Linked DNA regions of Homo sapiens: regions 1, 2, 4 and 5 are each linked to region 3. The links are contacts of gene promoters, found by promoter capture Hi-C in blood cells and fetal thymus (Javierre and others, 2016). All regions are on one chromosome and are shown on one strand. Each heading gives the region's core, a stretch centred on a gene start or on the middle of the fragment in contact. The rest is flanking DNA. Distances are from core to core; before and after follow the strand shown.

The links. The method cuts DNA at HindIII sites, captures the fragments that hold promoters and counts their contacts. A CHiCAGO score of 5 or more calls a contact.
Region 1: a fragment that was not itself captured here is called in contact with the fragment with the promoter of DCTD in region 3 in 1 of 17 cell types (endothelial precursors); the score reaches 6.3 in endothelial precursors.
Region 2: a contact is called between a fragment that was not itself captured here and the fragment with the promoter of DCTD in region 3, in 2 of 17 cell types (non-activated CD4 T cells and activated CD4 T cells). The highest score is 6.3, in non-activated CD4 T cells.
Region 4: a contact is called between the fragment with the promoter of CFAP97 here and the fragment with the promoter of DCTD in region 3, in 1 of 17 cell types (activated CD4 T cells). The highest score is 6.1, in activated CD4 T cells.
Region 5: a contact is called between a fragment that was not itself captured here and the fragment with the promoter of DCTD in region 3, in 1 of 17 cell types (naive CD8 T cells). The highest score is 5.7, in naive CD8 T cells.

What each region holds. Positions count from the first base shown.
Region 1 is chr4:180,663,536-180,668,671 of GRCh38, reverse strand. No RefSeq gene overlaps it. Among named protein-coding and RNA genes, the nearest start is that of LINC00290, 490 kb to the left of the region's middle. The HindIII fragment of the contact is 927 bases long and covers 2,111-3,037 here.
Region 2 is chr4:185,465,323-185,470,818 of GRCh38, reverse strand. The region is part of intron 2 of CCDC110 (coiled-coil domain containing 110); the gene reads left to right. Among named protein-coding and RNA genes, the nearest start is that of CCDC110, 3.7 kb to the left of the region's middle. The HindIII fragment of the contact is 1,979 bases long and covers 706-2,684 here.
Region 3 is chr4:182,915,199-182,920,458 of GRCh38, reverse strand. DCTD (dCMP deaminase) reads left to right here and starts at 3,073. Exons shown (of 6, transcript NM_001921.3): 1 at 3,073-3,148; 2 at 4,884-4,998. The coding sequence starts at 4,891. RefSeq lists an enhancer at 1,109-1,158 and a silencer at 2,732-3,441. The HindIII fragment of the contact is 3,169 bases long and covers 1,973-5,141 here.
Region 4 is chr4:185,201,232-185,206,927 of GRCh38, reverse strand. It overlaps CFAP97 (cilia and flagella associated protein 97), which reads left to right and starts at 2,928. Exons shown (of 5, transcript NM_020827.3): 1 at 2,928-3,030. It also overlaps a transcript of SNX25 not described here. RefSeq lists enhancers at 1,776-1,865, 1,976-2,085 and silencers at 2,845-3,016, 2,626-3,395. The HindIII fragment of the contact is 9,685 bases long and covers 1-5,696 here.
Region 5 is chr4:185,392,794-185,398,404 of GRCh38, reverse strand. It overlaps LRP2BP (LRP2 binding protein), which reads left to right and starts at 2,481. Exons shown (of 9, transcript NM_001377440.1): 1 at 2,481-3,626. ANKRD37 (ankyrin repeat domain 37) reads right to left here and starts at 1,564. Exons shown (of 5, transcript NM_181726.4): 1 at 1,455-1,564; 2 at 1,103-1,255. The coding sequence starts at 1,481. RefSeq lists silencers at 1,579-1,948, 2,169-2,358 and an enhancer at 1,979-2,048. The HindIII fragment of the contact is 384 bases long and covers 3,000-3,383 here.

The sequences.
Region 1 (5,136 bases), core at 1,325-3,824, 2.3 Mb after region 3:
AATAAATAAATATCTTAAAATTCCAATCCTGCTTCGGCAGTATTAATTCCTCAACAGACCATTCTTAAAGAGGCAAAGTGCGGTGGCTCACACCTGTAATCCCAGAACTTTGGGAGGCCAAGGCGGGTGGGTCATGAGGTCAGCAGTTCAATACCAGCTTGGCCAACATGGTGAAACTTCGTTTCTACTAAATACAAAAATTACCTGGGCATGGCGGCCCACACCTGTAATCCCAGCTACTCGGGAGGCTGAGGCAGAGCATTGCTTGAACCCAGGAGGCGGAGGTTGCAGTGAGCCAAGATTGCGCCACTGCACTCCAGCCTGGCAAAAGAGTGAGACTCCCTCTCAAAAAAAAAAAAAAAAAAAAAAAGAGGCAAAGCGTTTAGCAGGAAAACAAATACTTTCAGGGAGCTTGATGGGCTAAACTCTCCTTAAGACAAAATTTTATGTCTAGGAGCAGGAATTTTACCTAGTATTTGGCAGTATATGATATGATAAGTTAGAACTCAGCAAAATGTGCACATCACACTTTAAGTAGCAGGTTATCATGCTTTTGATATAATGCCTTACTCACTGGGGCTACAGTTAATGTTGCCTGTAACTTCTAAGCTGGTGGACTGGTGGCAATGTGTTAACAGTATCATGTGCAAAAGGACCAAATAATTATTTTGATTTTGTGATTCTAAAAAAGAATATACGTCATTATTTATAAGTTAAAATTGGCTGTAATCATTACATTAAAAATAAAATAACAACCTTATTGAAAGTGATGTGCTGTTTTCACTTTACTGGAATCTGGTACCATCTTGAGGTTGGAGACATCGTCCTGAGATAACTGTTGGTACAATGAACTTCAAAGCCAAGCCCCACAATTACTGTGAATGAGCCTCTATACCTGAGCATGGCAGGAAGTCATTCATTTTGTAACTTTTGGAAAACTATTTGATAATTCAGATATCAATACTTCCTCTGAATATCCTTACAAATCTCTTTAGACTTATTGCACCATCAATTCCCAATTGCCTACATAAAAGGATTGTATTAAGCATTCTTTCAATATTCTAACTGTACTTATTTTGTGGCACAACGAATATACCTTTATTTTTCTTTCTTGCAGAGTCTGGAAAATTTGAGGTACTTCAAAATATAACTTTAGTGCTGCAAAACCCTGCAGCCAACAGAGAAAATCAAGGCCATTCAAAGCTGTACTATAATGTTTCTTATTTCAGAACCAGGAAAATATATAGAAAATTACTTCCATTTCATTCAACTTTACATTGCATTATTGTCTTCGCAAATGTTGCTATGTGTTCTTTTATATATAGTAATTGATATTTACAATATTTTCAACATTACAAAAGCACGCATTCTACCTTGATAGAAATTTGTTAAATTTTAGTTCCCTAAAATTAGTACATTTTTCATTAGATTGCACAGTAAAGGTCAATCTTTGTATTTCATTAGGATAACACAGCCTTGAAATGAGTCAGAGCAGGTGCAAAAGAAAAGAAAGCACAATTCATGAATATATGACAGGAGAGCAATAATACTAATTAATTTGGGGAAGAATGCGGCCAGATTATGCTTATGGAAGACTTAAATCTTTTAAAGGCTAGCAAATAGATGGCAAAGGTCATCCAATCAATGTAGATAAATAATGAAAGTCCTTAGAAAAAGCCAAAATGTGACAAGTGAGAGGGTGGTCATGTCATTCAATTTGGGGGACTTAAATATTGAAAAGTCAATGATTTGGGCATTATGTTCAAATGACTAGAGTAATGAAATAGAGAGAGATGAAGGAAAATCTATGTGTGCCTCTATGTCGCATGCCAGAATTCCCCGCTACCTAAACTATTCTCTACAGATGAAATTATACATTCTGGTTTATACATTATCTTATCACATGCCTTACACACCTGGTAAGAACATCACAAAAAGCATAAGAGTCATAGTGCTGGTGTTCAGTCTCCTGACGGATGTTAGCTGGGGCCAGTGTGGTTGTAAATAGTGAAACGTGGGCTGTGTGTCAGAGACTCTTGCCACTTCCACGTTGTCTCTGCCTCCCTAACATGTCTGATAATGATTGATGCATGAGTTTAAGGAAGAAGCTTATTGATTCATAGAGATGTAGAGTTTATAGAAATATCAAATATGTTTTGATAGGATCCATCCCCAAAGTAATGAAATGAAAAGGATTAGCATAGGTCATAATGTGTATTAGCCACAGAGCATTAGATTTCAGAGTACACTTGAGTTCTTTCTGTTCTGTCACTAGGGGGCACTGTGAGCATGGATGAAGCCCTGTGCCCTGGATGACCAAATAGAAAAAAACCTCCCTAGGGGAATTTGCGATGCCTCTTTTCATCCAACATTACGCGTTTTTTAATAACATAGAAATTGACCCTCCCTGTCTTAAAACCAACTTTCAGGCAAGGGACTGAAACTCACCAGATGACTACATCCAGAAAATGAGATGCCGGGCCCCTCATCCACCTTGATTACTTCCTTACTCCTCCCTAATTGATTTTTTCCCTGCAGGTAGCTACATTCCTTCCCTGATATATAAACCCCCCAACTTTAGTTGGTTGAGGAGACAGATTTGAAACTTATCTCCTGTCTCTTTGGCTGCAGCACCTGAATAAAGTCTTCCCTGGCAATCTTCCTTGTCTTAGTGATTGGCTTTCTTTGTGGCAAGCAAGGAGACCTAGACCAAACCCCCGGCATTTTCGTAACACCAGTTTCTCTAGAAAATATTAGAGTAAGACTGTATAGGCAGCCAAATACAGAAGAAAGTTTAGATAAGACATATGCAAAAGAGTTTGGTCAGATAATGTTTATCTACTAGGGCTTGGATTTTCTTTTCTTTTAGAACAAAGAAAGTGATGAGAAGCAGGAAATAATTTTATTGATTTTTTTTTTTTTTTTTTTTTTTTTGTCCACATTGCAGATACTGCACTTTGTGGGTCAAACAAGGTGATAAAGACATCCCGGAATGTGGCAGTTTGCCAAAAATATACGAAACAAGATACCACAAGCTTCTCTATATAAGAATCCAAGAGACTACATCATTCCTTAAGAAACTAGGATATTTCTAGAGAACACTCTATATTATTTGCATAAATTATTCCAAACTAAAATTATAACACTAAAAGTGCCCTCTTCTAAGCATCATTATTTCTGGAAAGTCTACTGTAGAAAATATTTTAAATAAATACATTAGATAATTCCCATAGTGATGCCCTTGATAGTACTCCAAGATTTGAATTATATATGCTCATTTATTCTTTTTTAAATAATTCAAGAGACAGATCAAAGCTTTACTTTTGTGAGTTTAGAATAATATTTTTTAAACTACATCTCTCAAGCTTTCTATTTTTCATGTGCTCATAAAAACATTTTCATACCGAGCATTTTAAATAAAAAAATAATTAGTTGAAGATCAGCATGATACTTGTAATATTTTGTTGAAAATGTATTCAAGTGTTTTCTTTGAAAATAAAAGCAAAACATAAGTGCAAATTTCACAGAGCTTGATGTACAGAGTAAATCACTTAAGTACAGATATGCTTGTCCTTTGAATAAAGGAGACATGGATATTAGGATGCACGAGAGGCTTGGAAACCTAACACTGAAGCCGGAAGCCCTGTTATTTAGGAGCTGGCAGATGAATAACCATAAGTACGTGACTACACTGCCACCTAGTGGTGCAAAGAATCAGCCTTCCAATAAGGATGCATGACTTACAATTCAGTGGCAATTTTATCAACAAAATTTTTTGTCCGTGAAAGTGCAAAAAAAAAAAAAAAAAAATCACACCAGATGGCTTGAAAGAGCCTAATAAGAGCAGTTATTGCTCTTTTATTGTATATTATTTCTCCAAAGCTTCATGATTCTCATTGATAAAAACCTCAGGTGTCTGCAGAAAGGCTCTGCAAACTCAGCACCCCAGGCAGGTATGAAGGAACACAAGCTTCAAGTGTCTTTGAATAGAAATAGTATTTTCTTACTGCTTGGAAGAAGCCTGTCTTTTGAAAAGTCTGCTTAGGATTTGAATCTCTGTTTTCCTTTTCTAGTTGGAAACCAAAGACAAAAACAAAAAACTCTTGGAGATTGTTCCAAATGCATCTTTCTTGCCCTCAACTGCCAGCCTTCTTAGGAATTAAATAATCCCACTTGTGATCATTCCAGGATTCAAACTTCTAATATTGACATCTCTGTTACAGGCGACAACGATGCCAGATTATGTCTGCAAATTAAGGTCATTTTAAAGGCCTAGGGAAACAGAAAATGCCTGGCAAGGGATCAAATTCTTCTTTGAGAGAGGGTTAGAAGAACCATTGCTATTTACTCATTGTGGATTTGTTTTGCAGGGGCATTGTTATTATCGCAGGCATCAAACCGTAGAGGGGAAAAAGCTGCAAACAAAATATCAAGGGAAATAACGACCATACAAAATAAATAGCAGGCACAAACAAAGTTCACAATGCCTCATGTGAACTTAGGAAAAACGCAGTCATGCATCCCACTTCCTGAATATGTTTTCAGTGGAGCCTTTCTTTCTTCTACAGCAAACAAAATTATTCCCTTCACCAGCAGTTGCCAGATTAGCCAAGAATATAATATTCAAGCTCAGGAAGAGATTACTGATGTGTCTATATTTAAGGGGGAAAGAAACATCTAATCTAAAACTTTGCATGAAATTTCTCCTAGGTAGCATAGTACATATTTTAGCTCTCATTTTTGTTTCCAGACATTGATTGCACTCCACATAAAATCTCTTTAGCCCCCCAGAAAGACACTCTGTTGGAAAGTCCATTTACAGTCATTTAATGCAATACCTAATTTTTCTGGTGAGGTAGCAAAACCACAGAAGAAAAGGGAGCACCGCTAGGCAGAGATGATCTAGAGTCCAATTCTCTTACTCCCTGGCAACTCAATTTTCACTGCATCCTATAGCCTCTCTGTAGAAGTCAAGCGTATTTTACAGTTTTCTAAGGAATGATTGATAACCTCAACAGTCTGAAATTAAACTGCACAGCAGACAGTGGAAGATGGTATTTTAAAGTACCTGGAAGCTTTAGTATTCACTATTACACTACACTATTTTAATAAATAGAAAAGCAATGTTTATTCACT
Region 2 (5,496 bases), core at 446-2,945, 2.6 Mb before region 3:
TCGCGCTTTGTGCCAGTGCTGTTCTAAGCACGTAATGGATCAACTGTTTAATTCTCACAACACTTTTACGAGGTGGGTGCTACCACGATCCCCATTTTGCAGATAAGGAAACGGGCACAGAGAGGTTAACTCCCTAAGGTCACACAGGCAGCGAGGAATGGAGCGGGCATTCAGCAGGGCGGCTCCGGACTGCCTGTCTTCACCACCACGCTACGCTCCGTTGCTTCTCTGAATGCTAAGTAAGAATTGTTGAGTTTTTTGGACACACACTAAAACGATATGCAGTCAGCCCTCGGTATCTGGGAGTTCCGCATCCTTGGATTCAACCAACCACAGATGGAAAATATTCAGGGGGGAAAATTTTTAAAAATAACAGTACCACAATTTTTAAATGCAAATTTTGAACAGTATAACAGCCATTTACATAGCATTTACATTGTATAAGGTATTACAAGTAATCGAGAGATGATTTAAAGTATACAGCAGGATACACATAGAAGCTATGCAAATACTACCCCATTTTGTATTAGGGACTTGGGCATCTGCAGATTTTGCTATCCGCAGAGGCTCTGGAACCAATCCCCTGTGGATATCCAGGGAGGGGTGTATACCTTTTCTAAAGAAAACTACTTTTTATAGTAAATATTTACGGACTACAGGATATTATATGGGGAGGATGTTTGAAATAGCCACATAGCTAAAGCTTTCAAGCACCACATAAATTATGAATAAGATGGGGGTACCCAGCTAGGGGAATCTGAGGACATTGAAGGTGGAGTCCCAGGCGACTGACTACACGCCTCTCAGAGGAGCCTGCTGTGAGGGGACATGCCGGGGAAGGAGCAGAGCACGGGGCAGGAGAAGGGTCTAGACTGATGTGCCATGCCCGGACCCCCAGTTGCCCCTCTGTAGGATATGGGCAATCCTGATGCCAAAGTGCTGAACCACAAGAGGACTGAGGTTGGGACAGGATTTCTGCACCTCCACCATGCAAGATCTTCACAAAAAGCCTTGTCAGGGCCCGGAAAGAAGAGACTAGAGCAGCCACACCTCAGTAGACAGAAGACACCCGGGTGCCCAGGCACTACCAGGATGAGCAACACCCCAGTGGAGGCCAGCAGGACAGGCACTGGCCAGTCCCCTCTCCGCCCTCCTGCCTCCACCCTTGAGATATGCAGGTTTCCCTGGGCAACCAGGAGGGGCAAAGGGGCCCCCTGAACGAAGGAGAAAGAGTCCTCACAGAGAGTTGAGACATTGAGGTAGCTCCGTATTTACCTCAAAGAGAGCATGTAAGGTCAGAAGAAATAGAAGTACCTTAATTTGGCAAGATCACATGTTTTTTGACATGAATGAGGCTTAGGGTTCTGGAGAAAGATGCCAACATTTATAGAAAATAGTTACATGCAAAATAGCACATGTACATGTTTAAGAGTTACAGTCTTTCTTGCCAGAACACAGTGTTTACAGGTCTGGGGTTGACACAGGACAGGTTCTTAATAAACACCAGTTATCTTGAGTCAGGGGCCACCCAGGAATTTCCTGCCTGCAACTATAGGCAAAACTAGGAGGTATGGCTGGCGCCCTTCTCTCTACTCTCCTACTGATGCTTTCATTGTCACCAAGTGATCCATTCCCCGTGTACTGAGAAAATAATGACCTGATTTGCATAACTACTGCCAGGTTACAAAGAGTTATAGAATGTTCCCAAGGTGTCTCTGATTTCAGAACTAGTGGTTAACCTAATTAACCCTTATTGGAATGGGTTTGTGAGAGACTTTTGAATTTGAGGGTGTCCAGGGTGTTGTTCCCAGCACCCTGTTGTACCCGAGCTTTCATTCATTCATTCGTTTGTGGAGCATATTCTTTTGAGCACCTGCTAAGTTTCAAGTGCTGTTCTAGGTGCTGGGGATCCAACAGTGAACAAGACTTGCAAGATTCCCTGCCCACATGGAGCTTACCTTCTAGTGAGGGAACAGACAGACAAAGGCTATTGTGTGTAAGCGGGGAATAAATTCTATGGAGAACATAAGGCTGAGAAGGGGGGGAGGAATATTTGGAGTGGCAGAGGTGGGTGGGAAGTGTGTCATTTTAAACAGGGTGGTAGGAGAAGGGCTCACTCAGCAGGTCACGTCTGAGCCAAGACCAGAAGGAAGTAAAGAAGCAATCTGTGCAGATTTCTAGGGAAAGAGCACCGCAGGCAGAGAGAATGGCAACTGCAAAGACCCTGTGGTGGGAGCGTGGCTGGTGTGATTGAGGAACGGTTGCTCTTGTAAATGGAGCAGAACAAGTAGGGAAGGGTAGGCGGGAGGAACCAGGACAGGGCTTTGTAGTTCCATGGATGAATTTGGGATTTATTCTGAGAAAATTGAGAAGCACTGGAGAATTTTGAGAAGGCTTCTCTCCCCTCCGTCTTGACTAGAAATTTTGAATTTACCAAATTATCATCATATTGCCTCTGCAGTAATGAGTTAGTGTCTCTTGAGCATTCACTATGTGCCGTACACCTCGTACACCTCAGTAAGGGCTTTATCTACAAACTGGACACTCGCCTAGAGTTATCCCCTCACTGCGAGTGTGTGGCAAAGCTAGAATTCAAATCTGGGCGGCAGGCAACCTGTTGCATAGCTCCTTGCATAATGACTGTGACAAAGCCTCATGCAGAGGGTGCCACACCTCACAAAGCTTTGTAAGACAGGGACATCTAGGAATGAACTTGAATTGTCACAGCAGAACTCAGTATTAGAACCTGCGGCCAGGCATGGTGGCTCACGCCTGTAATCCCAGCATTTTGGGAGACCGAGGCAGGAGGATCACCTGAGGTCAGGAGTTTGAGACCAGCCTGGCCAACATGGTGAAACCCCGTCTCTACTAAAAATACAAAAATTAGCCGGGTGTGCTGGCACATGCCTGTAGTCCCAGCTACTCAGGAAGCTGAGGCAGGAGAATCACTTGAACCCGGGAGGCAGAGGTTGCAATGAGAAGAAACTAAGAATTACAAAGCTTGCAGAGAGCCTGACATCTTATATAGAATCGTTACCCTGTTGCATTTTCAGAATGTATTGGTTCCTCTTGGTCTGTTTGCTACAGGTATGCAGTTGGTACTTTTTGTATACATTGAATACAATATTTTTTGCAGGCTCAGAATAAAAATTACCTCAAAAGTCATCCCATTGATAACTACCTTGTTTTTCACTTTTGACAGAAATATGAAGCAGCTGGAAAATTTAAGTTGAATATGAGATGAGTAATATTCTTACATTCCCAATAAACTCTCATCTTGGTGGGTGGGACCATGCCTTCCGCTTTGTTTATGTGCCTCCCGATATTGTATGTTTAGCAGGGACTTGGTAAATGGTGAAGTGTGATTGTGTTTTATCTCCTGGGTTCTTTGATAATTTCCCTTCCAATTCTAGAATCACGTAATTCTGTGTGACTAAGTATTGCCTAGTTTTTAAATTACCTTTCCTTTGGGAATAAGTAGCAGCCGATGTCTCTGAAACTCATAAGAAAAACAGAAAGTTATGTTAATAGCTTTTAAAAATAGATGAATCCGACTCCCTGCCTACTCTCTGCCTGTGCAGAATCATCTGAACTTTGCTGGAGAAAAACACTCACTTTTGAGTCATACCATGAATCTAAAATGCACTCTCAATGCTATTGGGAAAACTTACTTTATTTCCACAGAAAATTCTTCTTCAAATCCTCTGCAAAAAAGCTATTTCACTCCTCCTGTTCTCAAATCTTGAACACGTTTCTCCCTGGCCGCTCCACTCATAACATGGTCCCACTCTATATGAAAAAAGTAGAAGCACTCAGACCCAAACTCCTTCATTCTCACCCTTCACATTTGTGAAACCCATATTCTAGGTCTTCTCCCATTTCAACGGAAGAATTGTCCTTGATCAATCAAAAGTGATTTCCTCTGGATCTCATCTCTTGTGGAATTCTCAAGTCCCAGCTTCTGCAATTAGCCTCCCTCATTGTCCGGAATTATTGCTTTTCTCCCTTTCTACTATGTGATTCCAGCAGCAAACAAGCATGTTAGAATGTCCTGTGGTTTAAAAAAAAAAAAATTCCTTCTCTTAGCCAGATGTGGTGGCACACACCTGTGGTCCCAGCTACTCCGGAGGCTGACATGGGAGGATCGCTTGAGCCTTGGAGGTGGAGGCTGCAGTGAGCCAAGATCATGCCACTGCACTCCAGCCTGGGCAACAGAGTGAGACTCCATCTCAAAAAAAGAAAAAAAATCCCTCTTGACTTTCACATCTCTTCCAGGATGCACTGTCTTCCCTTCCACAGTGAAACTAGAAACAGTGACCTATCCTCCATGCCCACCAATCTCCACATTCCATTCTCTCCTCAAGCACTTCGTTCGGGCTTCTATGCATGTCCTTCTGCATGGCCAGCAGTGACATCTATGTTTGTTTGTTTATTTATTTATTTTAGATGGAGTTTCGCTCTTGTCTCCCAGGCTGGAGTGCAGTGGCACAATCTCGGCTCACTGCAACCTCCACCTCCCACGTTCAAACGATTCTCCTGCCTCAGCCTCCCGAGTAGCTGGGATTACAGGCACATGCCACCACACCCAGCAAATTTTTTGTATTTTTAGTAGAGACAGGGTTTCACCATGTTAGCCAGGATGGTCTCGATCTCCTGACCTCGTGATCTGCCCGCCTAGGCCTCCCAAAGTGCTGGGATTACAGGTGCGAGCCACTGCACCCGGCCCATCCATGTTGAATGATGTGTTCATTGCTGCTCCCATGAATCATACACTGGTAGACCCACCTGACTATTGGATATCTCTTCTTTGATGTTTAACAGACAACCTAGCCTTAACATATCTAAAAATGTTTTTCTCCTAAAGTATGTTCCTACTCTACTGTTTTCCCCCAGTAAATGACATCATCCCTCATCCATCTGCTCTCACCAAAAAACAAGGAGCCATCATTCATTCATCTCTCCTGGCCCCAACGAATCCTCCAGCAATGCTGCTGGCTTCATCTCCAAAGTATATTCTGAATCTACCTGCTTTCCCCACCTCCCCCACCACCATTCTAGTCCAAGATATCTTCATCTCCACTTAGATTATTGCGGTAGCCCTGCAATTGCCTTCTCACCCCACCCCATACTCTATTATCATGTAGCAGAGTGACCTGTAAACTTTTCAGTCAGATCAAATCATTCTCATGATGGAAACCTTCCAAAGTTCCCCGTTTCACTTGAAGGAAAAGCCAACCCGCTCAGCTTGGCCTGGAGGCTCTGCATAACCTAGCCCCTGTCTCCTGCTCCGACGTGTCCTCATCTTGTGCTCCCATGGGTCCACTAAGCTGCTTAGTAACAGTGCAATCACGGTGAGGCCAAAAAAGGAAGAAGAGATGGAAGATGGAAAATATATGTAGACAACATGTATAAATCCCATTGCTTTCTTTGAAATCTTTGATTTACTGTATCCCTTTATTAAGTCTGTACATTTCTTTTGGTCTCATATTTCTTATT
Region 3 (5,260 bases), core at 1,824-4,323:
TTTTCATAATTTTGTGCACCTATCACATGAGGTCAGGTGTGAATTTCCCACTTGTGGGAGTGTCAGCACTCAAAAAGTTTCAGATCTTAGAGCATTTTGGATTTTGAATTTTCAGGTTAGGGATGCTCAACCTGTACTGTATTGATAAGACCACATATTTATTTTTTTCTAGAATTTTCATTGTGACTTTTTTGTGGTTTAGCAGACTTACAGTCATCCCTTACTTAAGATTTAAAAAGAGTTTTCTCTAGTTTGCACTTTAGCATGGAAACATAAACAATTATTCCTTTGAAAACCAGTCAAAGTGGCACTTTGCCTCTAAGTGCAGTTGTTATGCAAAGGAGTTTTTGGTCCTGACTGACAACCACCAAATTAAGAACAACAGGCAGTTTATAACAACATTTACTATGTTCACTGGGCCAGCAATAAGGTTCATTTTTTTCTGTGTTTATTTGCGGAGAGGGGAATGTGAGGGCAAGAACTGGCTTATAGTATCCATCATGGTATTTACAGCACTTAGCACATAGCAGGGAATTAATAAAAAATGAATATTGTTGATTTTACAGAGACTCCAAGAATGGAAGTAGCTTCTCAAGGTTACTCGGGTTGTAAGAAGTGGGAGTAGGGTTCAAAGTCTGGTCTGACTCCAAGGCCGGTGCTCTTTCTCTCATGACAAACTTGATGGACAGATTGGCCACCTTCCTGACTCCTTGCCTCTGTTTCCCCAGTCACAGGTCTCATCCTTACCTTGGCAGGCAGAGGAGGTGGAAGGAGGGGCAGGTAGTATCTCGGTACGGCAGACATTTGCAAATGCCATCAACCCCTCTTCTGAGGCAGCCCTGGAAGAGTCTTACCTTGACTTCTGTTTTTAATCGGGATCCCCTACCTAAGGCACACTGAAATATTAATATATTCCAGGTTATGCTCTAGACTAGACATAGATAGCACGAAACCCCATAAACAAAAGGGCCAAGACAGTAGTCCTTAGGAATGTGCTGATTGGGTTCAACCTGTGTGAGGCCCTCAAGGAAGGCCAATCTAGATAGGGCTGAACACATACCTAACCTCTGTATCTGTAGTAGGTGGAGAAAGATCCTCAATTATAAGCCCAAATACAAGGTATTAGCAAGAGAGATTTAACACCTACAGTCACACTTGGAGTTACAAGGTGTTAATGAGAAAGACATACCAAGGAATATATTTCTCCCCCCTTTGGCCGCGTGGCTTCACTATTGGTGTACAATATTTGAAACCTCAAGTTGTGAAACTCTGAACCAGGAGGGTTTCCTGTATTATGAATGATGTCATCTTTAAGATGAGGGACTTTCAGTGAAATGCGGGAACATTCAGGGTAATGTGTTTTCAGCAAGCAGGAGCTTGAATTTATGGCAGAGGGGAGTGTGTGAGTTGACCAAAATGGAGAGTGATGAGAAGTAACTAAATTATGTATGACAGTCTTTACCGAGCAGAGGAAGGAAGAAAGCTTAATGATGTTGTGGTTGAAGGAGCAGCAGCAATTGGTGATGTATGGGTTGTAGGTTGGTAAGAAGAGAAATGGATCTATGAAGACCCAAAGACTGTAGATGAGTGTGACAAAGACCAAGCGGTGGATTTGGGAGGAGGAGGGAAACCAGGGGCTCGGGATATATGACACATTTTAGCGGCAACAAGACAGCCATGTAAAGTCAACTTGAAATTAAAAATCATCATCTTAATCTATGTGGCTCTTTCAAGCCTGAGTCTTATCAAGGCAAAAAAAAAAAAAAAAAAATCTATAGTTAACGATGAAGTATTTCTCCCTTTTGCTTTCCCGGCATCCACCAAGAGCAGTACATAATTTAATTATTGAATCTACAAGCTGGACCATGAGATGAAGAATGATGTGTCTGCTGTAGTGAGAAATTAGATAGAACCAACTGTTTACTCTCATCATTCTTCCTCCGTTAGGCTAAATTAATATAGTTAACAAGCTTTTGTTTGGAATAGCAGTTCAAATCTGGGATGTGCAGATCAGAACTGGCGATTATTACAGTAGCTGTTATTTATGGAGTGCTGACAGTCCCCTCAAGTCCCATGAATGAAACAGAAAGGGGTTCTTCTGTCATTCTCTGTGCTAGAACCACTGTAAGGGGCTAGACGTCTGCACAGGGTAACGAAGTTCATGAAAACCAGATTAAGTTGCTTGGGGCATACGACTCCAGAAATGTCACTGATGGTCTTTCCTATTGCCCTGTTTTTCTCATCTTTGAAACAACTGCAACAAAATGTGCACTATATAAGTGGGCGAGCATTACCAGGAGGTAACATGCAGGTGGGGTGCCTGTGCGGTGATACGGGTCGAGCAGGGCGCGGCAGGCTTTAGCAAACACCTCAGGCCCTTCCGCACAATTTGAGCAGAAACTGAAAGCCTGTCAGGCGCAGCCAAATGCAAATCTAGCTTCGAGGCACTGAGCCTCGAGGCACAGCGCCCCCGCCGGACCCAGTTCCCTGCCCCATCCAGTGTGTGAAACTGTGACCCAGCCACCGGCCAAGGGTCCCCACGGGGACGCTGCGACACAGCGGGCTCACTCCAGAGACCCAAACCAGGTCTCCCCACCTCCCGCCCCGCCAGTTTCACGGCACTAGATTCTTGGGGTCGTCTTTTAATCACAATCTCCATAGCCGTGTCTCTAAGCAGTTGATGGAACACGGATGGTGGGGAAAACCTCACCACCGCCACCACCACCAAACCAAGCAGCCCCCGACGGTCGTGCAGTCAGGCCCGGGAGCGCCCAACTCGCGGCCACCCAGCGCCACGCGTGACCCGGGCAGCGGGGCGACCTCGGGGCGGTCTGGCACCCGGGAAGTAGTTTGTGCTCGGGCTCTGAACACCGCCGGCCGGACCGCGGGCTGCGTCACGGGGACCGGGAGGCGTACGGCGACGCGGAGCAGCGCCTTTGCGGCGTGCGACCCGCCCCCGCCGTCCCTCCCTCCCTCCCCTCAGGGCTTCGGGCCCCCGGGGCCAGCCGCCGTCCTGCGAACGCGCGGCGCCCGGGCCGCTGCCCCCTTCCGGCCCCGCGGCGGCCCCGCCTCCTCCCCCGACTTCCTTCCCTGAGCACGGCGGCGGCGGGGACGAGCACCGGCCTGCGCGCGGAGCCGGCACCGGATGGTGGGCGGGGGCCAGCCGTGCGGGTACGCGGCCCGCGCGCCCCTAGCCACCGCCGCGTGGCACCGTCCCGAGCGCGTGGCGCGGGGCGCTGGCTGCCGGGCGGGGGCCTGGGGCCGCGGACGCTGGGGGCGCCTCGGCCGCGCTCAGCCTTTAGATCGGAGAATGCGGGCGGGGTGGGGGCGCTCGGGGTCCCCGCAGTCACTCCAGGGTCGATTTCTCGGCGGGCGCCGCGGCCTGTGCGAGGCCGGGCCCCTTGGAGTGCCCCGGGAGGTGGTGCTGGGCGTCTGAACACCACATCCCTTCCTGCGCCCGTGTGTGGGTTGGGAATGCCGGGTGTAGGCCCTGGATCAGAGCTGACGGGGTTGCGAGCGGCGTGGGGTGTGCCTGGGACGGTGACCGGATGTGTCTTCCTGAATCGTTGTATTCGAGCTCCAGTTCTCTCTGTTTCTACAGCTGGGCCTCAGTCCTCACAGGGCTCTAGTGGGCGTTCAGCCACACCAGGAGAAGGCGCCCAGGGGATTAACAGGACCCTTCCCTCTCCTGCTCTTCCCTCGCCCCCCATGGCTCCCCCTCCCTCCTATTTAGTAGGTACTTCTCCAGCACCCCACAGCGATGATGGATGCTGGCCCTAAAGCCAGGTGGGAAACCAGGCTGATTCAGCACCTGTCTTTTCCTGTTAGGGGGGTTGCCAGGCCTCTCAGATGTGGGGCAGCGTAATCAGTGGGTGACCGTGGTTCCCAGCACCCACTCTCCACTGCATCCTTGTCTTAGGCACTGCCGCCCTGCACTGTAGCAGATGCCTAAATAAAGTGTGGAGCCTGAAGCAGAAGTTTTGGGAGATGCTTGCCTTCCTTTAGACCACATTCCTCGCCTTTCTCAAGATTTCTCCGTGGTACCCACCCCGTTTTTGTGTTGTCTTCCTTCCTTGCCCTTGTTTCATTCCTTTTGAAAGCGACCACTCCCCTGAAGTCCTAGGACCCCCTTCGTGGGCTCTCCCTGCCGTAGACAGTCTCTGCTTGCCCCTGGTAAACTACGTTCCAAAAACCTTGCTTTAGGAGTAGCACTTGACGTTTTTCATAGTTTCTTCTCATGTAATTCATTACTCGGAGTTGATAACTTCTGTCCCATCTGGATTATTGAGGAGAAAGGGAAGGGAAAAATTATCTGGTTAATATCAGAGTTGGGAAGGCTTCAGATGTTTTCTTTGAATCCGTCTGGCATGGATGATAATCCTGTGTGGTTTAGGTTAAGTTACCTAAGTTCTCTGAGTCTGTGTAAGATGGGATGGCACTGTCTACCTTAGCTAGGAGTAAGGCTTGAGTGACATGATGTGTATAAACTTTAACAATGTCTGGAATCTATAGATGATCAATAAATATTTCTTTTTTCCACCCTCCTCCTGTGCTGACTCCGCTTTGTAAGGGAGACAGGTAAAGGACACAACAATTTGTAGGCTGGCATAAAAAATCCTATGAGAAAGCAGTAAATAGATGAAATATTTGGGAACGTGAAGCTATAGGTTTCAAATTCAAACTTCTGAAATAGGAAATTTCTTAAGTTTTTACTTAAGACCAGAGACTGTTTAGGGCCCATGTGCTGTGATTTCTGATTGATAAATGTAGCTGAAGTTGCCCATGTTTAGAGATTTAAAGGTTCAGTGTGGTTGGGTTGAACTGGAAAACAGACTTACTAAAATGCTTCTCTCAACTTCTGTTTTGTCATGTTTTTCTTCTAGACCCAACATGAGTGAAGTTTCCTGCAAGAAACGGGACGACTATTTGGAATGGCCAGAGTATTTTATGGCTGTGGCCTTCTTATCAGCACAGAGAAGCAAAGATCCAAATTCCCAGGTAAATGAATTTCACGGGAGAATGCTTAGATACTCACAGGCAAAGAGATTACTGCACATGAGCAGAAAGGGGAGACTCAGTGGACGCCTGTCAACTTAAAAGTGCAGGGTCGGTCTGCCTTTTGTGCTGCGTTTCTACAAGCTTAGTTCTTCCTGTGAGACAGAAAATTGTCACATGCCATTGTTAACTGCCTCTTGTGCCCCTTCTGGGACTGGGGGTGCACTTTCCTTGGCTTGTGGGTGCTGCCACAAAAAACCAGGCA
Region 4 (5,696 bases), core at 1,679-4,178, 2.3 Mb before region 3:
TCCTGGGTTCTCAGGCCTACTGCCTCAGAGTTATGCCATCCTATTCCCTGGTTCTGAGGCCTTCAGAGTTGGACTGAGCCACACCACCAGCTTTCCAGGCTCTCCAGCCGGCGAAGGGTGTATCATCAGAGTTCTCAGCCTCCATAATCATGTAAGCCAATTCCTCTAATAAATTCCTGCTCATATATCTATCTATATCCTTTTGGTTCTGTCTTTCTGAACCAAGATTAGTACATCTTCCATTCTTTTTTTTTTTTTTTTTTTTTTGAGACAAGAGTTTCGCTCTTGTTACCCAGGCTGGAGTGCAATGGCGCAATCTCGGCTCACTGCAACCTCCGCCTCCCCGGTTCAAGAGATTCTCCTACCTCAGCCTCCCGAGTAGCTGGGATTACAGGCATGCATCAGCATGCCTGGCTAATTTTTTGTATTTTTAGTGAGATGGGGTTCATCGGGCTGGTCTCAACCCCCCGACCTCAGGATCTGTCCACCTTGGCCTCCCAAAGTGCTGGGATTACAGGAGTGAGCCACCATGCCCGGCATACATCTTCCATTCTGTCTGTCCTGCAGACCATCTTAATGTTGTTATGTGGACCAGAGGCGCACAAGTCATGGGCTGAATAATATTCCATTTTATGTATCTACTACATTCTGCTTCATCTGTCTGTTGATAAACAAACACTTGAGTTTTTTCCGCCTTTTGGCTATTCTGCTATGAACATGGGTGCATAAGTATCTGTTTGAGACCCTGCTTTCACTTCCTTTTAGTGTATGTCCAGAAGGGAAATTGCTGGGTCATATAATTCTATGTTCAAGTTTTTCAGAACATGCCATACTATTTTCCACAGTGGCTGAGTATGCTACATTCTCACAAGCAATGCATAAGGGTTTCGATCTTTCCACATTCTTGCCAATCCTTATTTTCTATTTTTTTGACTAAAGCCATCGGTATCTCATTGTGTTTTTGACTTGCATTTCCCTAATTAGTGGTGTTGAGTATCTTTTCATGTGTTTATTGGCCATTGGTATATTTTCTTTGGAGAAATATCTACTCAAGTCCTTTGTAAGATAAACTTTTGACCACAGTTTGTTTATTTATTTAGAGACAGGGGCTTGCTCTGTCGCCCAGGCTGGAGTACAATGGCGTGATCTCAGCTTACTGCAACATTTCCCTCCTGGGTTCAAGCGATTCTTCTGCGTCAGCCTCCTGAGTAGCTGGGATTACAGATGTGCACCACCACACCTGGCTAATTTTTGTATTTTTAGTAGAGACGGAGTTTCACCATGTTGGCCAGGCTGGTCTGGAACTCCTGACCTCAGGTGATCCGCCCACCTCAGCCTCTCAAAGTGCGGAATTACAAACGTGAGCCACCGCGCCGGGCCAACCACAGTTTAACAACTATCCCTGGAAAGTGGTGCCAACACAGTTTTATTAAGCACTTTAAAAGAAAGTGAAATTCTTGCTTTTTTTTTTTTTGAGACACAGTCTTACTCTGTTGCCTAGGTTGGAGTGCAGTGGCACGATCTCGGCTCGCTGCAACCTCCACCTCCGGAGTTCAAGCGATTCTCCTGTCTCAGCCTTCCGAGTAGCTGGGACTACAGGCTCACGTCACCACGCCCAGCTAATTTTTGTATTTTTAGTAGAGACAGTGTTTCACCATATTAGTCAGGCTGGTCTTGAACTCCTCTCAGGGGGCCCCACCCGCCTCGGCCTCCCGAAGTGCTGGGATTACAGGGGTGAGCCACTGCGCCCAGCCAATGCTGTCTTTTAGGCAACAAAAAGAGAATTGATTATACTTTTGGTAATTAAGACCAACAAGTACAAAATGCATTGTGAAGGACGAAAATAGACAATCCTTACTGGAACTCCCCGGGACAGGCAGGGTAAGACCCATATTTCCTACCCTTCTTTGCACTTAGATGTGAACAATATTTATTAACTACTGGATTGTATACCATTGCTGCTATAACAAATTACTACAAATTCAGTAGTTAAAACAACACAGGTGTATTGTCTTACAGTGCTTAAGGTATTAAGTCTAAAATCAAAATTTGCAGGCTCTAGTTCCTTCCTGAGGTTTCAGGAGAGAATCCGTTTCCTCCTTTTGCAGCTTCTACCTGCACTCCTTGGCTCATTGCCTCTGACATCACTCCAACCTCTAGCTTCTGTGCTCACAGCTCCCACTACTGACTTTGAACTTCTTGTCTCCATCTTATAAGGACCTTTGTGATTCCATGGGGTTCACTGGATAATCCTGGTTAATCTTCCCATTTTGATCCTTAATCACATCAGCTAAATCCTGTCTGCCACATAAGGTGACATATTCACGTGTTGTGGGGACTAGGAGGTGCACATTTTTGGGGTGCCATCATCCTACCATACCTGAGAGTTCAACGAGAAGTTATTGTATTCAATATATTCTGCAGAGATCATTTTTACCTTAGATTGTTTTAACTACCCACCTCGTTTACCACTCGGCAAAGGTCTTTCCATTCTGAAACCAGCCTCTGGTCCACAGAACTAACTAGTGGTATGAACTGAAATTTGCTGATAGAAAATATCACAAACACACAGCCGCCGTTCTTTTTTATTCTTGGTTTGGTAGAGAATTACAAGATAATCAAGGCAGCTTTCCCTATTAACGCACGAGAACAACGGGGCCTACCCGCGCCGCCCTAGGCAGCCGGGAGCAGCAGTAACGCCTCTAGGGCGCCATGGCAACCACGCGGGCTGGACCGCCTTCTTCCGCGGCTCTTCTAGTGTGCGCGTCCCTGGCCCGGCCTCCACTCCGCCCGCGTGGAGCCCCGGCCTGGCCGCCTGCCCGCCGCGCTCTGTGACGCCCGCCGCGAGGGCCGCACGAGGCCCGGCGTGCGCCCCCGCCTCTCCCGAAGCGCCGGGCCCCACGCCGCCCCTCCTTTCCCTTTCCGCTCTCTCCGCCTCCGGAAGCGCGGGCGCGCGGCGCCGGGAGCCCGTTCAGGGCCGCGGGAGTGCGCCAGCGCCGCGCGTGGGGCTGTGGTGGCCGCGGCTCTCAGGTGAGGGGCGCGCGAGCGGCTCCTGGCTCCCTGCTCGCGGGGCGCCCGCCACGCTCCTTTCCGTTCGCATCCGTCTCCCCGCTCCGGAGCCCAGGCGGCGGCGAGTACTCGGGGTGGGTTTAACGAAGCCTGCGCGGACGGTGGGAGACCGCGCCCCCACGACAGGGGCGCCCGCGGCGGCGGGTCGCGGCGCCGTTCCACCCCGGTCCCCTGTGAGAATGGCGGGTCCCGCCCTCTCGCGCGTTCCGGGTGGCTTTGAGGGTCAGGATCAGCCCTAAATTGAGATTGGGCCGCGACCACATGCCGGGCCCTGACGACTTCTTCCTACTTGTAGGGACTCGAACCTAACCCACGAGGCCCGAGGGGTTATCTGCCTTCCGGGGACGGTAGGGGATGTAGACAAGAGCCTAGCGTTCCTGGAAACAGGTGTTTAATTTGGGCCGGGATTTTCATGTACCCAATTGGGCATCTTGTTGGAGGCCTACTGTGCTGTTTAACTACAGAAATGTATTGTCACAGTAACAAGATGACAGTTTAAAAAGTGCCCGGTGCTTTTCTGTGTATTTTCCTGATGTTTGGTGAAAGCATTAGTCTTGTTATTGCTGGTCTGTAGGACCTGGCAAGTGGGGCGTGCCCAGTGACTCTCAGGCAGCTTTGATAAAAACTTACCTGTCTCTTTTTTTTATTTTTATTTTTTGAGACAGGGTCTCGCTCTGTGGCCCAGGGTGGAGTGCAGTGGCACGATCATGTCTCACTGCAGCCTCCCAACTCCTGGGCTCAAGCGATCCTCCTGTCTTGGCCTCCCAAAGTCCGGGGATTACAGGCGTGAGCCATGCCCCTCCTGGCAAAACTCTGTCTTGATTGAGCACCAAAGGGTTGTTATGGTCTGATGAACTATCCTTTAATTTTATCCTTTCCTAGTCTGTTGTAAAGAGAATCTTAACTACTTTATTAAGTCATTTTTCTTATTCTCTGGTAAATTGAATCACTTACCTCGTAGTAAATGTTATCAAAAGAATTGCTCAGTGGATGGGATTGTTGGGTAAATTTTCCTGTAAATTAAGTCACATGAGTGTCGAAATCTTTACAGTAACTCTGTTGGATATTATTAACTAAAATTTAAACCTGAAAAGTCTCACAGGCACCGGACTATGCACCAGGGCGCATGAACTGTGACCACTTAGGGAGGCAGCTGGCTTCCAGCTCTTGGGGACTGCATGACCTTATCATGGAAATGCAGATAAAGGCATAGTTGTGGTTTGTGCTTCCGGAGGGGTGGGGGAAGATGGCAGGAAACTATCAAGGAAACTGGGTTGAAACCCGGTGATTTTTTTTGTTTGTTTGTTTTTTGAGATAGGATCTCACTCTGTTGCCTAGGCTGGAGTGCAGTGGCCTGATCTCGGCTCACTGCAGCCTCAGCTCCCAGGTTCCAGCGATTCTCCCACCTCAGCCTCCGGAGTAGCTGGGACTACAGGCGAGAGCTACAACGCCCGGCTAATTTTTGTATTTTTTGTAGAGGTGGGGTTTGGCCATGTTGGCCAGGCTGGTCTCAAGCTCCTGGGCTCAAGTGGTCTGCCTGCCTGGGCCTCCCAAAGTTACAGGCATGAGACTGTAACATGAGCCACCGCACATGAGCCTCCATGCCCAGCCACACACATACAAGGCGATTTTTCTACCCTCGTGGGTAGCAAAGAGCATGGCTCAATCTTAAATCTCCTAACTCCAAACTCCTTTGTGGGATAAACATTCTTTGAATGACTAAATTCATCAGGTTCTCCTTTGGGTACTGGGGTTATAAAGATGAGGAAGTGACGAGGAGCTCCCAGTCTGGCAAGGAGACAAGTGTAGGGGATGGGGGGAAAAACAAAAATCCTTTTTCCTTTAGCTGGGTCTGCAGCTGGGGCTGTAAGGCAGATTAACAGGAGAAAAGGCATACGTATTTTATGTTAATTTTTACAATGACACAGGGCTTTCCTAGAAAAGAAGTGGATAGGCCAGAAAGTTTCTATACGGTGTTTAAAAGATGATAAACTGTGGAGATACGACATGAAGAGATCATAAAACCAGGTGGAGGGTTAGACCTCTAGGGATTGAAACTATGGGACGGTAAATACAGGCATACCTTGGAGATATTTTGGTTGCTTGCAGACCACCACAATAAATTAAATCTTGGAATAAAGCGAGTCACATGAATTTTTTGGTTTCCCAGTGCATATAAAAGTTATGTTTACACTATACCGTGGTCTGTTAAGGGTACAATGGTATTATGCTTAAGAAATGTACATACGTTATCTAAAAAATAATTTATGGCTAAAAAATGCTGTCAATCATCTGAGCCTTCAGGGAGTTGTAATTTTTTTTTGCTGGTGGAGGGTCTTGCCTCACTGTTGATGGCGGCTGACTGATCAGGGTGCTGAGTGCTGAAGGTTGGGATGGCTGTGGCAATTTCTTAAAATAAGACAATGATTAACTTTGCTTTATTGATTGACTTCTTTTCACAAAAGATTTCTGTAGCTTGTGATGCTGCTTGACAGCATTTTATCCAGAGTAGAACTTTTTTTTTTTTTTTTTTGAGGCGGAGTCTTGCTCTGTCGCCTGGGCTGGAGTGCAGTGGTGTGATCTGGGCTCACTGCAACCTCCGCTTCCTGGGTTCAAGAGATTCTCCT
Region 5 (5,611 bases), core at 1,942-4,441, 2.5 Mb before region 3:
CTTCTAAAAATCTCCTCCTTTGGACTGAATTTTTAAATTCAAGCTTTTTATTTTTGTTTTTTTCCTCGGTAAGCTGCAAAAGCTTTTTATTTTTGATTAGTTCTTTTAGTTTGCTTTTTCATACCGTTTTCATTAATAAAAATGTGTGGCTGGGCGCGGTGGCTCACGCCTGTAATCCCACCACTTTGGAAGGCTGAGGCAGGCGGATCACCTAAGGTCAGGAGTTCGAGACCAGCCTGGCCAACATGGTGAAACCCTGTCTCTACTAAAAATACACAAATTAGCCGGGCACGGTGGCGCGTGCCTGTAATCCCACCTACTAGGGAGGCTGAGGCAGGAGAATCTCTTGAACCCAAGAAGCAGAGGTTGCAGTGAGCCGAGATCGCGCCATTGCACTCCAGTCTGGGCGACAAAAGCAAAACTCCGTCTCAAATAAATAAAAACGTGTAGCCATATGCACATACATTAAAATGTAAGCAAATAAAAAGAGTTCTTCCAGAAAAGTTTACAATTTAAAATTCACCATGCTTTAATATTCAGTGGAAGATGCAAACTACAGTAAGAAAACTCTTTAGGAAATTAGAATGCTTGTGGACATAGCTCCTAAGTATTTCAATTGCTGCAGGGAGACTTTTGGTAATGTAGCAATTACTTCTTTTGAAATAAACTAGATCTGTGCTGTTCAATATGATAGTCAACAGCCACTTAAGGCTAGAGTATTTGAAATGTGGCTAGTCTGATTTGAGATACGCTGTCACACCAGATTGTGAAGACAGAATAAAAGAAAGTGTAAAATATCTAATCAGCAATTGCTTTGATTACATATTGAACTGATAACATTTTGGACAAATTGGGTCAAATACTAAAATTTCATGTTTCGTTTATTAATGTGGCTACTTAAAAACTTCAAATTTCTCATGTCCTCACATCAAGACTGGAAAAAAACTCTTAAATTACATCTGTGTCTTGCATTATATTTCTGTTGGACATCGCTGCTATAGACATGTTTTTAACAGCTGAAACAACTCTTGGCGTCTGAGAAATGTTTGTGTGTGTCTGGGTTGGAGGGGACGGCTGTACACAGCAACAGTTACCTAGTTACCTGCTGGTTGAGGTCAGCGCCCGTTTGCAGCTGCCAGAGAAGAAAGCAAGCAAGGCCGCTTCCTGCGGCTAAGTGGACAGGCGACTGCTTGCAGGGATCCGGGGGTGCGTTGACCGAGGCCCCTGTCTCCAGCAAATGCTTCAGACCATCCACCTGCAGGAAGAGAACAGATCCAGCACCCTTCCCACCTTTGTCCAGTCCCGCGCCCCTCCGGGCTGGAAACCTCCCCGCCCTTCACAACCAGCTCTGACCAGGCAGCGCCCAGTGGTCCGTCCCCGCATTAACGAGAAGACGAATCTAGAAGCTTGAGCCTGCAGGACAAAAGCTCGGGCTCTGTGAGCCCGAATCTCACCTCGGGGTTGCAATCCAGCAACAGCATTTCCCGCCTAAGGCAGATGACAAGAGTCCTTGGAAGTGCAGAGAGGTGAGACACTCGCCGCACCCCGACAGGTAAGAATGCGCAGGCTGGCCCTAGCACGGGAGAATTTAAAGACCGCTGGGACTTCCGGGCCGGCCCTTGGCAGCCGCGCCCCAGCTCCGGTTACGCCCGAGCAGCCTAATCCTCAACGACCCGGACCCTGTCCAGCCCCGCCACGGCCGCACGTACACAAACACTGGCACGTGGAGCCCGGCGCCGGGGGCAGGGGGAGGGGGCGGGCGCGCGAGGCCATCCGCCGATTGGCCAGCTGTGGATGCGTCAGGCCCTCCCACCTCGGGGCGGGGCCCGCGGCGGCCCCACGGAGCCTCAGCGCGCGTGCGCAGGGTAAGTCAGTGGGCGTGAGAGGACTGGAGTAGGAGCGGGTGGGGCTCCGCGGCCGCCATGAGGCGCGCTGAGTTTGACACGTCTCCCGGTAGTGCGCCCGCCCTTTAATCCTTACGGAGAAGCGGGAGTTTCGGCTGCAGGTTTTGGCTCTGCCGGCGCGCACGTAACCAGGAAACTGGGAGCCACGCGCAGCTCCCCGTCGACGCCGCCTTCAGAAGCCGCTGTGCACTGCGCTGCTGCCGCCTCGGCGCCGGGGAACGCAAGTTCCTTTACCTCGCGCGCAGTCGCCCGCCTCCCAACCCGGGAGGTGAAGGCGGGGACGGCGAGCGCGAACTCGAGGGGATGGCTGTCCCGAGTGGCAACGGCCGAGCCCGGCCCGCGCAGGGACCCTTGTGGAGGGGCCCTCGGGGAGAGGCCGCAGCACGCTGGGGTCGTCACGCTGGTCCACGCCGGGCTCTCCTCCCGGGAGAGCGGACCCGGCCGCGTGCGATTCGGACCCGCGGGGCTGGTGAAGCCGCTGTCCGGCCCCGCGGGTGCTGTCGGGCGTGCGTCACTGCTTTTTGTAGAACATGACCTGACTTCCGATGGCAGCTACTGACGTCAGAGCTGCTCCCTAGACTCTCCCTAAGCGTCTTTCCAGAAGGATCTGCTTAGAAACCAAAGCTCCAGCCGAGTGTTTCTTTTCCCCTACATTTTTAGTGATTCCCTTCTGTTGATGCCTTTGAAAGCTCGGAGAAATAAATACGTTTATTGTTATGCTGTTAGAAAACAAGTTCATGCTTGTCCTCTAAAGATAAGTGGTCTTTTCATTCTACTTTTTGTTTTGTAGTAAGAGCCATAAAATTTGCAATCGCAAGTTTATGTTGTTATACTTAGTTACCCAAGGGGTAGTTTTAAGCATTTTTATTCATATGAATATTTGAATATAAATGTGTGTTCAAATATATAGAATCGTTCTTATATTCCACATTTTTAATATTTAAACTATTCACAATATCTTTTAATGATGTTTAAAGAACGGCAGTGTAGAGATACTGTTGTCAGATTTGTGAGGTGAGCACACGTTGATATTGCCAGTTTCGCTTTTGTTTATCAATTCAATAAGCACTGCTTTTTAAAACACGTGTTGAAGCTTCAGGTTTGCACAGAAGTTCATTTTCAGGAATTCCTAACTAATAAAGGGTATCAGACACGTTCTTACAGTTTTGAACATAAATACTGCAGTTAGCATATGTAGTGGGATATTTGTGTGGTGAAAGTGCCTCCATATTTCATATCTTTTCTTTGAAACAAGATTCTGTTCAGTATGCATTAAGTGGTAGTTATTTTTTAACTTCCTGTTACATACGTAAATTTCATAAGGAAAGGAAATTTGGGGAGTCGTTACAGCTTTTCTCCCTTTAATCACAGCGTACCTGTCCATTGCTCACATTGTTTTCAGAAAAAAAAGTTGTATCTCAGCTGGATATCTGACTTGACTTTAGTAATGGGCCTAGAAACTATAAACTGAACAAAGCTTATAATGCACAAAAACAGGATAAGTACATTTGGGGGACAATATCTTACTGGCAAGTAACTGGAGTTTCACCAGGCGTGTAGCAGGTGGGATCAATTTTCTAAAACGGAAGATGATCTAAGATGCATATTTTATAGGCGTTCTCCTAAGCAGTGCTAATTCTACATGTTTTAATTGCTGGTAGATGCGTTTCCAGAACGAGGATGCCATTTACAGCGAGTGTTAAAAAAAACGTTGGATGATGAGTAAGTGACCGAATAGATGAGAGATGTGTGGGCTGAATCTTGAGTAGTAAGAGTTTGCTAAGGAGTCCAGGAAGGGAAGAGTATTTCTAAGAAGTGTAAAATATCTTCCAGTATTGAGAGCACTATATGTAGTTCAGTCTGGGGGCAGTGTGTGATACACATGCAGCTGTGATGTGAAATAGAGAAAGGCCGACAAATGAGAAAGTATTAACCACTAACGTCTATTCCAGTTTATTATATTACAAATTGACATTAATTGAGCACTTGTGCCTCAAGACTAACGCTCATAGGTATTATCTGCATTTTACAGAAGAGGAAATTGAGGCTTAGGGAGATCCATTAACTTGTCATGTAATTATTAGCAGGTAAATCAGGAATTTGAAGTCAGTTTGACTCCAGAGCCCACATTCTTATACCTATGTGTTTTAAATAATTTTGGTCACCTCTGGTCAATTCAGGCTAAGATTGGTTTCTTTAATGCAAACCAAAGGCCTTTTTTTTTTTTTTTTTTTTTAACTCTGAAACACAATCTCGCTGTCTTGCCCAGATTGGAATGCAGTGGCGTGATCTCAGCTCACTGCAACCTCCGTCTTCCCGGGTTCAAGTGATTCTCGTGCGTCAGCCACCCAAGTAGCTGGGCTTACAGCTATACGCCACCACACCCAGCTAATTTTTGTATTTTCAGTAGAGATGGGTTTCACTGTGTTGCCCAGGCTGGTCTCAAACGCCTGACCTCCAGTGATCCACCTGCCTTGGCCTTCCAAAATGTTGGGATTACAGGCATGAGCCACCATGCCTGGCCGCAAAAGAGTCTTCAGAGAAAATTATTGTAATCCATAGAAAAAACAACTGTTTTATTTAATAATGACTGTCAGTGTAGCCTTGTTCCTGGAATTGAATCTCCCGCAATACTAAACCTAGTACTTCTTATTCAAGTAATTACTCTTGAGGGTCAGGCGCGGTGGTGGCTCACGTCTGTAATCCCAGCACTTTGGGAGGCTGAGGCAGGCCGATCGCCTGAGGTCAGCAGTTTGAGACCAGAATGGCCAACATGGTGAAACCCCGTCTCTACTAAAAATAGAAAAATTGGCCGGGCGTGGTGGCAGGTGCCTGTAATCCCAGTTACTCCGGAGGCTGAGGCAGGAGAATCGCCTGAACCTGAGAGGCGGAGGTTGCAGTGAGCCGAGATTGCGCCACTGCACTCCAGCCTGGGTGACAAGAGCAAGATTCCGTCTCAAAAAAAAAAAAAGGAAAAGAAAAAGTAATTACTCTTGCATCAGTGAATTGTGCCAGGTGAAAATTATTAAAAGTAGTTGGTGGAACCGATAAGCTAATTTTATCTATTTCTTGCTTGCTGTGGTTTTCCTGTTTCTTATTGACCAAGAAAACACTGGAAAGCATTACCAAAAGGCACAGTATTGAAAGGAGGAGTAATTGAGAATACCTACTCATTCCTACTTTAAAACATTAATTGGATTGTATATGTTTAGTAATGCCATAGAAAACTTCAGCTCTAAAGCAAGTGAAATAATGTAAAACTAAAAATCTCACCAGATGCAGTGGCTCACGCCTGTAATCCCAACACTTTGGGAGGCTGAGGCAGGCAGATCACTTGTGGCCAGGAGTTCGAGATCAGCCTGGCCAACATGGCGGAACCGTCTCTACTAAAAATACAAAAATTAGCCAGGTGTGTGGTGCGTGCCTGTAATGCCAGCTACTTGAGAGGCTGAGGTGGGAGAATCACTTGAACCCAGGAAGCAGAGGTTGCAGTGAGCCGAGATCGTGCCACTGCACTCCAGCCTGGGTGACCGAGTGAGGCCTCATCTCCAAAAATACTGAAAACTAAAAATCCCAGTAGCTGGCCTGGTTTCACATGTATTTTTTAAATCCCTTGAGAATATCATAACGCCAAAGCATTGAAGTCAAACGCATCAAGCATTTCTGAATATGATGTCTTGTTTATTGCCAGCCAGGCACCCATGGTA